Regions from separate parts of the Homo sapiens genome. Here all the other regions are linked to region 1. The links are contacts of gene promoters, found by promoter capture Hi-C in human tissues and cell types (Jung and others, 2019). All regions are on one chromosome and are shown on one strand. The core of a region is centred on a gene start or on the middle of the fragment in contact, and the rest is flanking DNA. Distances in the headings are between cores, read along the strand shown. Region 1 holds the start of LRRC9 (leucine rich repeat containing 9). Region 2 has its middle 34 kb from the start of DHRS7. Region 3 overlaps RTN1 (reticulon 1).

Evidence for each region. Contacts are between HindIII fragments. The study calls those that stand out against the background at their distance.
Region 2: a fragment that was not itself captured here is called in contact with the fragment with the promoter of LRRC9 in region 1 in 1 of the 25 tissues and cell types used here (hippocampus).
Region 3: a fragment that was not itself captured here is called in contact with the fragment with the promoter of LRRC9 in region 1 in 1 of the 25 tissues and cell types used here (aorta).

The regions. Positions count from the first base shown.
Region 1 is chr14:59,917,785-59,921,930 of GRCh38, forward strand. LRRC9 (leucine rich repeat containing 9) reads left to right here and starts at 2,360. Exons shown (of 33, transcript NM_001395648.1): 1 at 2,360-2,489. RefSeq lists an enhancer at 1,520-2,719. The HindIII fragment of the contact is 18,773 bases long and covers 1-4,146 here.
Region 2 is chr14:60,197,422-60,201,612 of GRCh38, forward strand. No RefSeq gene overlaps it. Among named protein-coding and RNA genes, the nearest start is that of DHRS7, 34 kb to the left of the region's middle. The HindIII fragment of the contact is 7,748 bases long and covers 1-4,191 here.
Region 3 is chr14:59,614,069-59,618,294 of GRCh38, forward strand. All of the region lies in intron 3 of RTN1 (reticulon 1), which reads right to left. Among named protein-coding and RNA genes, the nearest start is that of MIR5586, 31 kb to the right of the region's middle. The HindIII fragment of the contact is 5,580 bases long and covers 1-4,226 here.

The DNA.
Region 1 (4,146 bases), core at 1,110-3,609:
TAATTCAGGATATGATATAGCAAATTTGCTATAATTAGTGGTAATATCTCTTTCCAGTTGTTTTCAGATTCAAGATGCCTTTACCCATAAATAAATAGATTTAAATTAATATGGCTTGGCCTTTGTCTAGTATGATCAGAGGTGAATAAAGTGAAGTCTTATTTCAATTAGATGATTACTTAATTTGCTTGACTCTTCAGTAGTTTCAATTTCCAGCGTTTTTTGTTCAGACATAAAACCTTATAATAAAGCTACTTTAAAGTGAGAAAAGGAGATTAACAAAAATGATCACTCTTTTTGCATTGCTTCTATGGCTTTTAACTGTAAGCATCTTTTGCTTCAAACAACATTTCGAATATGTGAACAGAAGGTGATTCTCTTAAGACTTACCCTGTGGACAAAGGCTTTATTTTGGCAAGTCACCAATAGTTCTTAAGTCTACAGCTATGCAAGAACTCAGACTCAGTTGCTGACTGGCCAGATCCTTGAGCTTTACCTAGAATAATAACAATCTTAAAATTATTTGTTTATATCATGTAAAGAAAACTGTTAGCTCTCTCCTAGTCTTTCACTGGTCAGGAAAATCCCAATAGATTCCTAAAAATATACTTTGATAATGTTTATACTTTCATCCCAGAGCTGGACCCCTCAAATTAAGAAACTTAGTGTAGATAATTCGCTGAACTGGTTTCTGTTCAAATTTCTATGTCTAGAAGTGTAGAAATCTCAACTATTATGTTCTAATTCATCTTTATACTCTATGAAGAAAACTTCCCCAAAGACAGGTCACCTTGTTCAACTACATTTCAGAGAAGATAATAGTAAAAGTAAAAACTATGAATCTGACTTTTCTGGCATTAGTTTGAAACCCCTAAGCCACAAATAACTTTAATTAGCTTATTTCGAATTATCTATTAATGACAGATAGAAACAATTTTCTGTGAAATAAGAATGTAGAGGGAAAACCAGTTAATTTTTGTTTATGTATCTTTACAAACGGTCTATATTACAGATAAAGTTAATTGAATAAAGGCAAATATGCTGAAATTGTTGACAATTGTTAAATGAGAATATTCCTAAAATCTGAACTTTTTCTTGGGAAAGCAGTTCAAAACTATAGTCTATTTAATGAGGTGGCCATCTGGTGACAGAAAGAAGCACTACAGACAATATTTTGCATTAACATCACAACTATTCTACACAAACCGACTGAACCACATAAAAGAGAGCACAGTCCAAAAGAAACATAATTCAAGTCATACATGCAATTTAAAATTTATCTAACAGCCGCATTTTCAAAATAGAAACAATAATTTTAACAATATTTTTTATTTAACCCAATGTATCAAAAATATTATTTCAACATTTAATCAATATGAAGATTAATAACGAAAGAGTTTATTTTTTTCATACTAAGCCTTCAAAATACAATGCGTACCTTACAGCACATGTCAATTTGGACAAGCCACATTTCAAGCGATCATGGGCCCTGCGAGTCTGTGGGTAGCGGCTCACCCTGCTGGACTGCGCAGATCCAGAGAACGACACGAGACCTGCGGTTGCTTTGGTTTGCCTTTTACTAAGTTCATTTCTCAGCCTCTCTGCCCACTCTGAAAAGTCTCCCCTTTCCCCCCTTTTAATTCTACTCTATTTTGTAAATTACTGTTGTCTCCTGAAAATTTTGGAATGCTTAAAAGGCACTCAAAAGCCTGTCCGAGATCGACTAGAAGACCCTCGGAAGGTCCCTCTCTTCTCTGGACCTCACTGGGCGTTCGTTTGCCCGCGCCGTCCTTCCATTCGGCTTGCCGGGCGCGCAGCGGCTTGCGGCTGTGGTCAGCCACCTTCCCGGGAGGCGGTGGTCGCTGGCCGCGGGAAGGATGCCGCGCTGGGGGTCGGGGTTCGTCCCGGCTGTCACGCCACCTTGTGACATCACAGGGCCATGCCCTCGGGGCTCAAGGCCAGAGAGGCTCCGCGCTTCCAGGACCCGAGAGCTAAAGATAATGAATGGGAGAGAGCGAGACTGGAGGAGGTAACGAATAAGTCCCCACCACCTTGCCCATAACGCGTTGCTTTCAGTCACGTTCCGCGAACTGGCGAAGGTAAGTGAAAAGATAAGCGCAGGTACAGAAAAACCTGCCAGCGAGAAGCTCCCGCCGTTTCCCAGGAGCCCCAGGTGGGGTCTTCCGGTTGGACCCCTGCTTCCGCTGATTGGTTGGAGGTCGCCACCACGTGATGCAAACCCGGGTCGGCCTCCGCTTCCCCCCCACCCTTTTATCCCCCTCCCCGCCCCTTTTCTCCTCCTCCCCACCCGGAGGTCGCCGGAGGCGGAGATCAGGTTACCTAGGCAACCGCCACAGGCAGTCTGTACACACCAGGCCTGGGGCGGGAGAGGGTTTCCTACCTTCTGCTGCAAGACAGGGATTGGGAAATCGGAGTGGACTCGGACTTGAATCGGATTGCCCCGGAATCCACCCTCTCTCTGTGATAAGGTCAGAATCCGTCACCTGGTGGCCTTCGGGCGTACATCACCGGGAGTCTTTGATCCCCTCTTTTTCCTTCCAAGCCATACCAAGGGGAAGACGCCAGTGAAGCAAAGTTGAGGTCAAGGGAACTCCGTAATGGTGCAATGGTGATGATAATGATGAAAGACAGTGAGGTGGCTTTACTGAGGCAGTCAGGGTACCAGAACAAAGTTCAAGAGAAGGAAAGGGAGGGTGGCCTACAGCCAACTATGCAGATTTTACTGCACCAATTAAGATTCTGGGCTGGAAAAACCAAGTGCTCCCTAACCAAACCTGACACTGCTCATCTAGAGAGTGTAGGGGGTTTATTTGGACCATCAGTGGTAACTGATGGATTCTGATCCTTTTATACCCAAAGGAGGAAATAATTTGACCCATACAGGACTTCTACTGGGCAGAGAAAAAAAAAGTTTTCTCAGAATGACATCCTAACCAACTCTCACGGCAGACAGAAACCATGGTCCTTTTTACTCTATCATTATACTCTGGTCATGGAGAACGATTATGTCTTTAAATTATACCATATGCCTGTGGCATGACAATTAACCCATTAAACAATTTTTTTAACAACTAGCATGTGCCAGACAGTGAACCTGTGATAGGTTCACAGTTTCTGCCTTCAATGAACATGTAACCTAGTAGGGAAGAAAGGCCCGTAAACATTGTTTTACAGTGTGACAAGTGCTATACAAAGAGTATGTGCAAGCCCTAACCAGAATCACAAGAAAGAGAATGCTTATAATACTACCAGAGAGAATGAAAGTCTTCAAAGAGAAGATCTTTGATTTAAATCTTTAGGGAAGTATGGAGTATGCCATACAGCCAAGGGAAAAGGACATTTTAGGGAGAGGAAACAGCCCATGCCAAAGTACAGAAACATCCATTCAGTTCCAGAGAACTATAGTTGTGGCCTGAACCTAGGGTCCTCTGTGGAGGTTGTGGCTGATGAGCATGTGAGGTAGGCAGGAGTCAGAGCATGGAAACCATTAATACCTTCCAAAGGGGTAAAGCATGAGCAGATTTACCTTTCAGGAGGCTGTCACAGTAGTGTAGAGGATGAACTTGAGGGAAGACAGACTACAGGGAGGACATCAAGTTAAGGGGAGGTGATGAGGGCCTGAACCAAGGCAGAGGCAATTGGAATGAGGAGGAGGAAAAAAAATGTGGTAAGACCTTTAAGAGGTATATGCAGAAGGATTTAATGAGTGAATGAAAATAGGGGGATAGAGTCAAAGATTGGTTGAGGATAATAGCTCAACCAATAGAAGAATGGTGGTGTTACTTTTCAAGAGAAGGCATACATTAGGAGAAGGAGGCTGGTTGGAAAATATAATGAGTTCAATTTTGAACACACTGAATTTGAGATGCCTGTGGCACATTCAGATGGAGCTTTTTCATGTGGGCAGTTGGATTTTTTTTTTTTTTTTTTTTTGCACAGAAAAGAAGATAAGGATTTTTCACCATGAAGAAAACAATTGGTTTGAAAAGCACAAAGTAGGCCAGGCACGGTGGCTCATGCCTGTAATCCCAGCACTTTGGGAAGCCGAGGCGGGTGGATCACAAGGTCAGGAGTTCGAGATTAGCCTGGCCAATATGGTGAAACCCTGTCTCTACTAAAAATACA
Region 2 (4,191 bases), core at 577-3,076, 280 kb after region 1:
GTGCTGAGAGAGAATCTGTGCATTTGGGGGAGGGAGGACAAAGTGACTGTGGGATTTTGCATTGGAACCCAGTGCTGCTCTGTCACAGAGGAAAGCAACACGAGGCAGAATTCACCTGGAGCCCATGTAGAAAGCATTCAGACCAGCCTTAGCCAGAGGAGAATTGCCCATCCCAACAGTTGGAATCTGAGTTCCAGCAAGCTCTGCCACCATGGATTAAAGTGCTCTGAGGTCCTAAATCAACTTGAAAGGCCATCTGTGTCACAAGGGCTACAATTTCTGGGCAAGTCCTGTTGCTGTGCTGGGCTTGAAGTCAGTGGTCTGGGGGTGCATATAACCTAGTGAGACAGCAGCCAGGGTGGCCAAGGGAGTGCTCACACCACCCTTCCCCCAACCCCAGGCACTGCAGCTTGCAAATCCAGGAAGGACTACTTCCTTCTGTGTGAGGAGAAGAAGGAGTAAAGAGGACTTTGTCTTGCAACTTGGATACCAGCTCAGCCACAGAAGAATAGGGCACCAGAAAGAGTCCTGATGCCTCCACTGTAGGCTCTAGCTCTTGGATGACAATTCTAGACACATTCTGGGCCAAAAGGGAACCTGCTATTTTGAAGGGAAGGACCCAGTTCTGGCAGGATGAGTCACCTGCTAACTAAACAGCCCTTGGGCCCTGAATAATAAGCAGTGGCACCCAGGCAGTTCTCACCATAGGCCTTGGGTGGGACTCAGAGCTGTGCTGGCTTCGAGTGTGACCCATCACATTCCCATGTGTGGTGGTCACAGGGACAGACCCATTCTGCCTGAGAAAAGGAGAGGAAATAACAAAGGGCACTTTGTCTAGCAGCTTGGGTACCAGCTTGACCACACTGGACTAGAGCACCAGGCAGGCTCCTGGGGTCCCAGATTCTAGGCCTTGGCTCCTGGACGGCATTTCCGCACCTGCCTTGGGCCAGAGGGTGGCCCAATGCCCTGAAGTAAGAGACCCCGGCTGGCAGCATTCATCACAAGCTGACCAAAGAGCCCTTGGGCCTTGAGTGAATATTGATGGTAGCCAGGCAGTACTCATCAGAGGCACCTTCTGGTTGAAGAAAGGAGAGGAAGGCATGTGAAAGACTTTGTCTTATGGCTTAGATGCCAGTTTGGCTGCGATAGGATAAAGCACCAAGTAAATTCCAAGGTTCCTGGCTCCATGCCGTGGCTCCTAAATGGCATGTCTGGGCCCACCCTAGGCTAGAGGGTGGGTGCTCACTGACCTGAAAGCAAGGACACATACCTGGCTGGACTCACCACCTGCTGATTGAAGAGCTCGTAAGCCCTGAGTGAACATCGGCAGCAGCCAGGCAGTGGATGCTGCAGGTGTTGGGTAAGACCTAGTGCTATGCTGGCTTCAGATCTGACCCAATATGGTCCCAGTGGCAGTGGTCACAGGGGGCTTGTGTCACCCCTCTCCTAGCTCCAGGAAGCTCAGCACAGACACAGAGAGAGACTCCATTTGTTTGGGGGAAAGTAAGGGAAAAGAGCAAGAGTCTCTGCCTAGTAATCTGGGGAATTCTCTCAGCTCTAACCCAAGACCACCAAGGCAGTACCTCTATAACACTGCAAGAGTCACAACTTTACTGGGCTTGGTGGGGGCCCCTAATGCAGATACAGTTGCAGTGACCAAAGACTTACATCACAGTAGTCAATTCCCTTTGAATACTTGGAGAGCCTTTCCAAGAACAGGTACGATCAAGCCCAGACTGTGAAGACTATAATAAATGCCTAACTTCTCAATGCCCAAACATTGACAAACATCAAGAAGCATAAAGACCATCCAGGAAGACATGACCTCACCAGATGAACTAAATAAGGCACCAATGACCAATCCTAGAGTGACAGAGATATGTGATCTTTCAGATAGAGAATTCAAAATAGCTGTTTTGAGGGAGCTCAAAAAATTCAAAATAACACAGAGAAGGAATTCAGAATCCTATCACATACATTTAACAAAGACATTGAAATGAAATTTAAAGGTCAGGCAGAAATTCTGGAGCTAAAAAATGCAATTGACATATTGAAGAATACATCAGAGTCTCTCAACAGAATTGATCAAACTGAAGAAATAATTGGTGAACTGGAAGATGGGGTACTTGAAAATACACAGTCAGGCCAGGCACAGTGGCTCATGCCTGTAATCCCAATTCTTTGGGAGGCCAAGGCAAGAGTATTGCTTGAGGCCAGAAGTTTGAGATCAGCCTGGGCAGCATAGTGAGGCCCCACCTTTACAAAAACATTTAAAAATTATCTGAGTATTGCAACACATGCTCATAGTTCTAGCTACTTGGGAGGCTGAAGTGGGAGGATCATTTGGGTCTAGGAGTTTGAGGTTACAGTGAGCTATGATTGTACCATTGCTCTCTATCCTAGGTGGCAGAGCAAGATCTCATCTCAAAAATAAGTTTAAAGGAAAAAAAAAAGAAACAAAATACACAGTCAGAGGAGACAAAAGAAAAAGGAATAACAGAGAATGAAGCGTGCTTACGAGATCTAGAAAATAGCCTCAAAAGGGCAAATCTAAGAGTTATTGGCTTGAAAGGGGAGGTAGAGAGAGAGAAAGGGGTAGAAAGTCCATACAAAAGGATAGTAACAGAGAACTTTCCAAACCTAGGGAAATATATCAATATTCAAGTACAATAATGTTATAGAACACCAAGAAGATTTGACCCAAATAAGACTACCTCAAGACATTTAATAATCAAACTCCCAAAAGCCAACAATAAAGAAAGAATCCCAAAAACAGCAAGAGAAAAGAAACAATAACATACAAAGGAGCTCCAATATGTGTGACAGCAGACTTCTCAGTGGGAACCCTACAGGCCAGGAGAGAATGGCATGGCATGACAAATTTAAAGTTCTCAAGGGAAAAATATTTTATTTTAGAATAGTATATCCAGTAAAAGTATTCTTTGAACATGAAGGAGAAATAAAGACTTTCTGAGACAAACAAAAGCTGAGGGATTTCATGAACACTAGACCTATCCTATAAGAAATGCTAACAGTTCTTCAATCTGAAAGAAGAGGATGTTAATGAGCAGTAAGAAATCATCTAGGCTGGGCATGGTGGCTTACGCCTGTAATCCCAGCACTTTGGGAGGCCAAGGCGGGAGGATCACCTGAGGTCAGGAGTTTGTGACCAGCCTGGCCAACATGGTGAAACCCTGCCTCTACTAAAAATAAATAAATGGTGCTGGGAAACTGGATATCCTTATGCAGAAGAAGGAAAATAGACTCCTGTCTCTTGTCATATACAAAAATCAAATCAAAATGGATTAAAGACAAATCTAAAACCTCAAGCTATGAAACTACTAAAAGAGAATTTCAGGGAAACTCTCCAGGACATTGGTCTTGGCAAAGATTTCTTGAGTAATATCCCACCAGCCCAGGCAACCAAAGCAAAAATGGACAAATGGGATCACATCAAGTTAAAAAGCTTTTGCATAGCAAAGAAAACAATCAACAAAGAGACAACCCACAGAATGGGATGAAATATCTGCAAACAAATATTTATCCCTTCATTTCGCAAAGGATTAATACCCAGATTATGTAAGGAGTTCAAACACCTCAATAGGAAAAAATGTTGTAATAATCTAAAAGTGATAAAAATACGCAAAAGCTCGAAAAGACATTTCTCAAAAGAAGGCATACAAATGGCAAACAGGTATATGAAAAATGCTCAACATTATTGATCATCAGAGAAATGTAAATCAAAACTACAATGAGGTATCATCTCGCCCCAGTTAAAAGGTGGCTTTTATCCAAAATACAGGCAATAATGAATGCTGGGGAGGATGTGGGGAAAAAGGAACCCTCATACACTGTTGGTGGCAATGTAAATTAGTATAACCACTATGGAGAACAGTACGGTGTTTCCTCAATAACTCACAGAACTACCATGTGATTCAGCAATCCCACTGCTAGGTATACATCCACAAGAAAGGAAATCAGTATATTGAAGAAACGTCTGAAGAAATAAACTTCCATGTCTATTGCAGCACTATTCACAATAGCCAAGATTTGGAAGCAATCTAAGTGTTCAATAACAGGCGTACAGATAAAGAAAATATGGTACATATACACAATGGAGTACTATTCAGCCATAAAAAATAATGAGATCCTGTCATTTGCAACAACATGGATGGAACTGGAGGTAATTAT
Region 3 (4,226 bases), core at 318-2,817, 300 kb before region 1:
GCCCCCACTACCCCCACTGGGAGATGAGACTCCCAGGAGAGATGGGCTGATTACAAAATGGGCTGATTGGCTTTGGGTTACCTTGCAATAAAATGCAGGGTAGAAGCATTGCACTATCTTCTCCTGAGTATTTTCCTCCTTTTGGGGATCCGGGATCCGGTATAAAATGGTACCCTTAATTTTGGGGATCTGTCTTTGCCTTCAGCTGCTTATTTGGCCCTAGAAATTCATGTTTTCCTGGCCCTGCTCCTCCAAGGGCTCCACCCTGAAGCCAGTCATCCAATTAAGAAACTGGCAAATGAAAAATTTCACAAGTGCTAAATCTCCTGTCTGTGTATTTATATGTGTTGTATGTTTACATATAAAAAAACTCTAATTGGCTTAGAAACATAAGTGCTTAAATCAAATATTTTGTCAGAAAAATAGAAACTTTAATGCCGTTTTGTTCACGTGACTTTAGGAATCTTTGGGAAATAAAGACAGTTTTAAAGATTATTGGTAAAATAAAATGTCTTGAAAATGTAGACATTTGGTCTAAATTAAGGTCAAATATCAAATTTGCTAAATGCTTTAAGGTCAAGCTGTTTCTTTGACTTTTGAAAATTGTTCGATTTACCTACTTTGGAGCAGATTATAGATAAGGCCTGGGGACATACGGAAAGCCAAGTCCACTAGCTATGCTAAAATGAGTCAGATCTTCATTTCTGTCCGATGTCCTAGGCTCCACCCTTAGTAGATAATTAAAATCTCTTACTTATCAGGTTTTTCACTAAAAATAAAAGTTTCTAACAGTTAACATTGTAATATGTAGTTGAGACCACTGAAGAAGCAGTTTTACATACAAGGTATGTAGGGAATGTGTTTTTGGTAAAAGATTATAAGAAGGCATGGGAATATAGCTTTTGTTAAAGGGAATGTAATTTTGGCTAGTTCTGAGGGTTTTAAAAATTGTCTTAACCTAAAAGAGTAACAGAACAAAACTGAAGGCTTAAGCAAAGTGAAAGGGTTAATCTTGTAAAAATTCTGTGGGTATAAACCAGTTGGCTAATATTTAAAAGAAATTATTTAGCTTTTTTCCTTAGGTTAAAACATTAAAAGCGGCTGGGCATGGCGGCTCATGCCTGTAATCCCAGCACTTTGGGAGGCTGAGGGTGGTGGATCACCTGAGGTCAGGAGTTCGAGACCAGCCTGACCAACGTGGAGAAACCCTGTCTCTACTAAAAATGCAAAATTAGCTGGGTATGGTAGCGCATGCCTGTAATCCCAGCTACTCGGGAGGCTGACGCAGGAGAATCACTTGAACCTGGGAGGTGGAGGTTGCGATGAACAGAGATCATGCCATTGCACTCCAGCCTGGACAACAAGAGTGAAACTCCATCTAAAAAAAAACAAAACAACAACAACAACAAACATCAAAATCATACTGATGTGGGGCCTGAATCTGGGCCCATGTGTCTGAATAACAGGGCTTTCTTAGAAAATTGATCTGCTGTTTAATGGAAAATTGTAAAGGGTTCTAAAGGGTTTGTGAAAATCTTACCCTATGGTCAAACTAATTAAAACTGAATAAAGATACAAAATTTTATTTAAAAACACTAGCTTTAACATTAACAATGCACGAATGCAAACATGAAATATGTTTTTCTCTTTTAAAGATGATTTTTATGTAATGTTAAAAGATAATAAAAAGGTCTTATTTTCTTCTTTGGGTAAATGGCAGGGAAAAAAAGGAGGAAAGAAAGAAAAGAGATAGATTTATTTGGCCTCATGCTATCTTCATTGCATCTTGTTTGGAAAGCTAAGTCTCCTCTATTAGAGTAAAGGTTTTTCTTTTTTAAAATTTTTTTTGGAGTTATCATTTTGGCCAAATGAATTACGTATGGTAACCTAGGATTCTATTTTGTGATAACCAGTATTTTAAACCTTTGATATTTAACAAACTTTCCAACATCAAATTATAAATTATGTCTCTTTTTTACCTAATATTTTAGATATTAGGTCCTCTAAAGTCCAAAAATAACATTTGGCTTATTTGGTACAAAAATCATACAGAAAGCATTGTCAAATATGAAATGGTGTTTGGCTTTCTTTGGTCTATATTTGTGTAAATGCGTTATTGGTATATGCTCTGAAATTATGCAAAACTCCTGTTATTCTAATATAACTTAGTATATGTTATCAGTAATCATCATAATTATTATGTTAACAGACTGTGTGCCACAGAGGTAACAAATTTTCTTGTCAATTGTGTCTTTAACTGTGGCTGCCTTAAAATATTTTTATCATCCACAGACAATTGTCTCATTTTGGTGAAAATTGTTTCATACTCAGCTATCAAATTTAACAGGTGCTCTTAAATGCAGGATTCTAATTAATAATGCTGAAAATTGTGACATTAAAATAGAGGAAAATGTTTCAAATAGAAGACTAAGTGGCATTTGGTTTACTTTGGACTTTATTTATATAAATGTTATTAGTATGTGTTCCAAAATTATGGGAAACTTCTATAATGTTGATACAATTTAGTGTACATTATTAATAATTATAATTGTTATGTAAAATTGTTGTATGCCACAAAAGTAAACAAAACTGCTACATAATTGTAGCTTTAATAGTGGCTATAGCCTTTTGTCATCCACAGACATTTTGTCTTGCTTTGGTCCTTTTCAAAAGGCAGTTTATAATCAGATATACGACTCTTAAGTGCAGGTCTCAAATAACTTTAAAAATTGTGCTATTGAAAGAGAGGAAAAGAACAAACTTTTAGGGCTCTCATGGAAAGCTAATGTGTTAAACATTGCTAAACCTTTTCTTTCAGAGTCAGGAGGACTTATTTCTTTAGAGCTATTTGCAACTTCTAACAAGTGAGTAAAATATACTCCTATAAACAAAATTTGGAGCACATTTGTTCCTCTCTACCTAATTTCTCCAGAATTTGAAAACTATTTGTTAATATTCTCAATTTATGGAAGTATAGTTAATTGCATAAGTGTAATAACAATCTGTTTTCTTTTCTAACAGGACACATTTGGAGAAACTGGTTATTTTACCAAGGCTTTAAGTGAAATGGCACGCTTCCTTTAAAGAATCAAAGTTGACTTATAAAGCCAATTAAAGCCCGTTGGGGAATCTGTTCTCATACCTTGTTCACAAAGTCCCTGTACAAGGTTCCTGACCTGTGGTAAGTAAAGAATGTCACTTTATAACAGGGCCAGGAACCCCAAGTTATTTTGGGACCTCAAGAGAAGAGGAATTTTCCCACCTCATAGGTATTAAAGGGTATAAACCCATTGCTGGGCTCAGCTTTTAAAAAGTATTATCTAAAGTTCTTAACAGAACAGAGTTCTATCAAAGCCAATTGAAAAAGCTTACATGAAAAATAATTACTCTTGCTGTACTTTATGCAAATAATCAGGCCAAGTACAGTAAGAGTAAAATTCATTTTATAAACAAACCATTTCTTGATTTGTTTTTAATAAAAATGATGACTGGAGAGAGAAAAATTATGATTCAAAAGAAAAACTATACTACACTGTTGTTAGCTGTTCTTGAGGTTTTTTCTGCAGTTTAAACTAAATTCTAAATTCTTTGAGGGTTAGAAGCAAATCTTTGCTTTTAAAACTGGTAATTGTACTCCTAATCCTAGCCCTCATTATTTACCTTATAGTAGGCTGTTCACTTAAACACTGTAGTAAAACTATAAATAAGAGTACTGTTTCTGCCATGCAAACCTTGAAAGCCCAGCCAGGCCTGCATGAGTACGCTCAGACAGTTGCAAAGCAGTTCCACTCTTCTCACCTTGGGGTTCACTCCCATTCCCACTACATCCCCTGTCAGCAGGAAGAAGCCAGAGCAATCAATGGCCTTGTCCCATCTTCACAGCCTACTCCTTAAGATTAAGGTGTTATAAAACCCAAGGGAAGGACTGAAACGGCCTTTGCAAAATTATGACCGAGACAGCGAAAGAGATCTAACTTAACTAACTCCATCTTGCTTCTAACCTCTAAGCTGTCCTTGTTCATTCCTGGGTGTAGGCTGAACTAACTTTGGAAGAAACTTAGTTCATAATTTAAACAAAGACAGTAACAGCCCTTTCCCAAAGCAGACCTCCTTCTTGCCTGGGGACTAGATTGCCTTTGCAGGACTAACATTAGCCATAAGATGAGAAATTATGGTTTAGGAGTCATGCAGCTGGAGGCTACAAGATTCTGACCCTCCCTAAACTG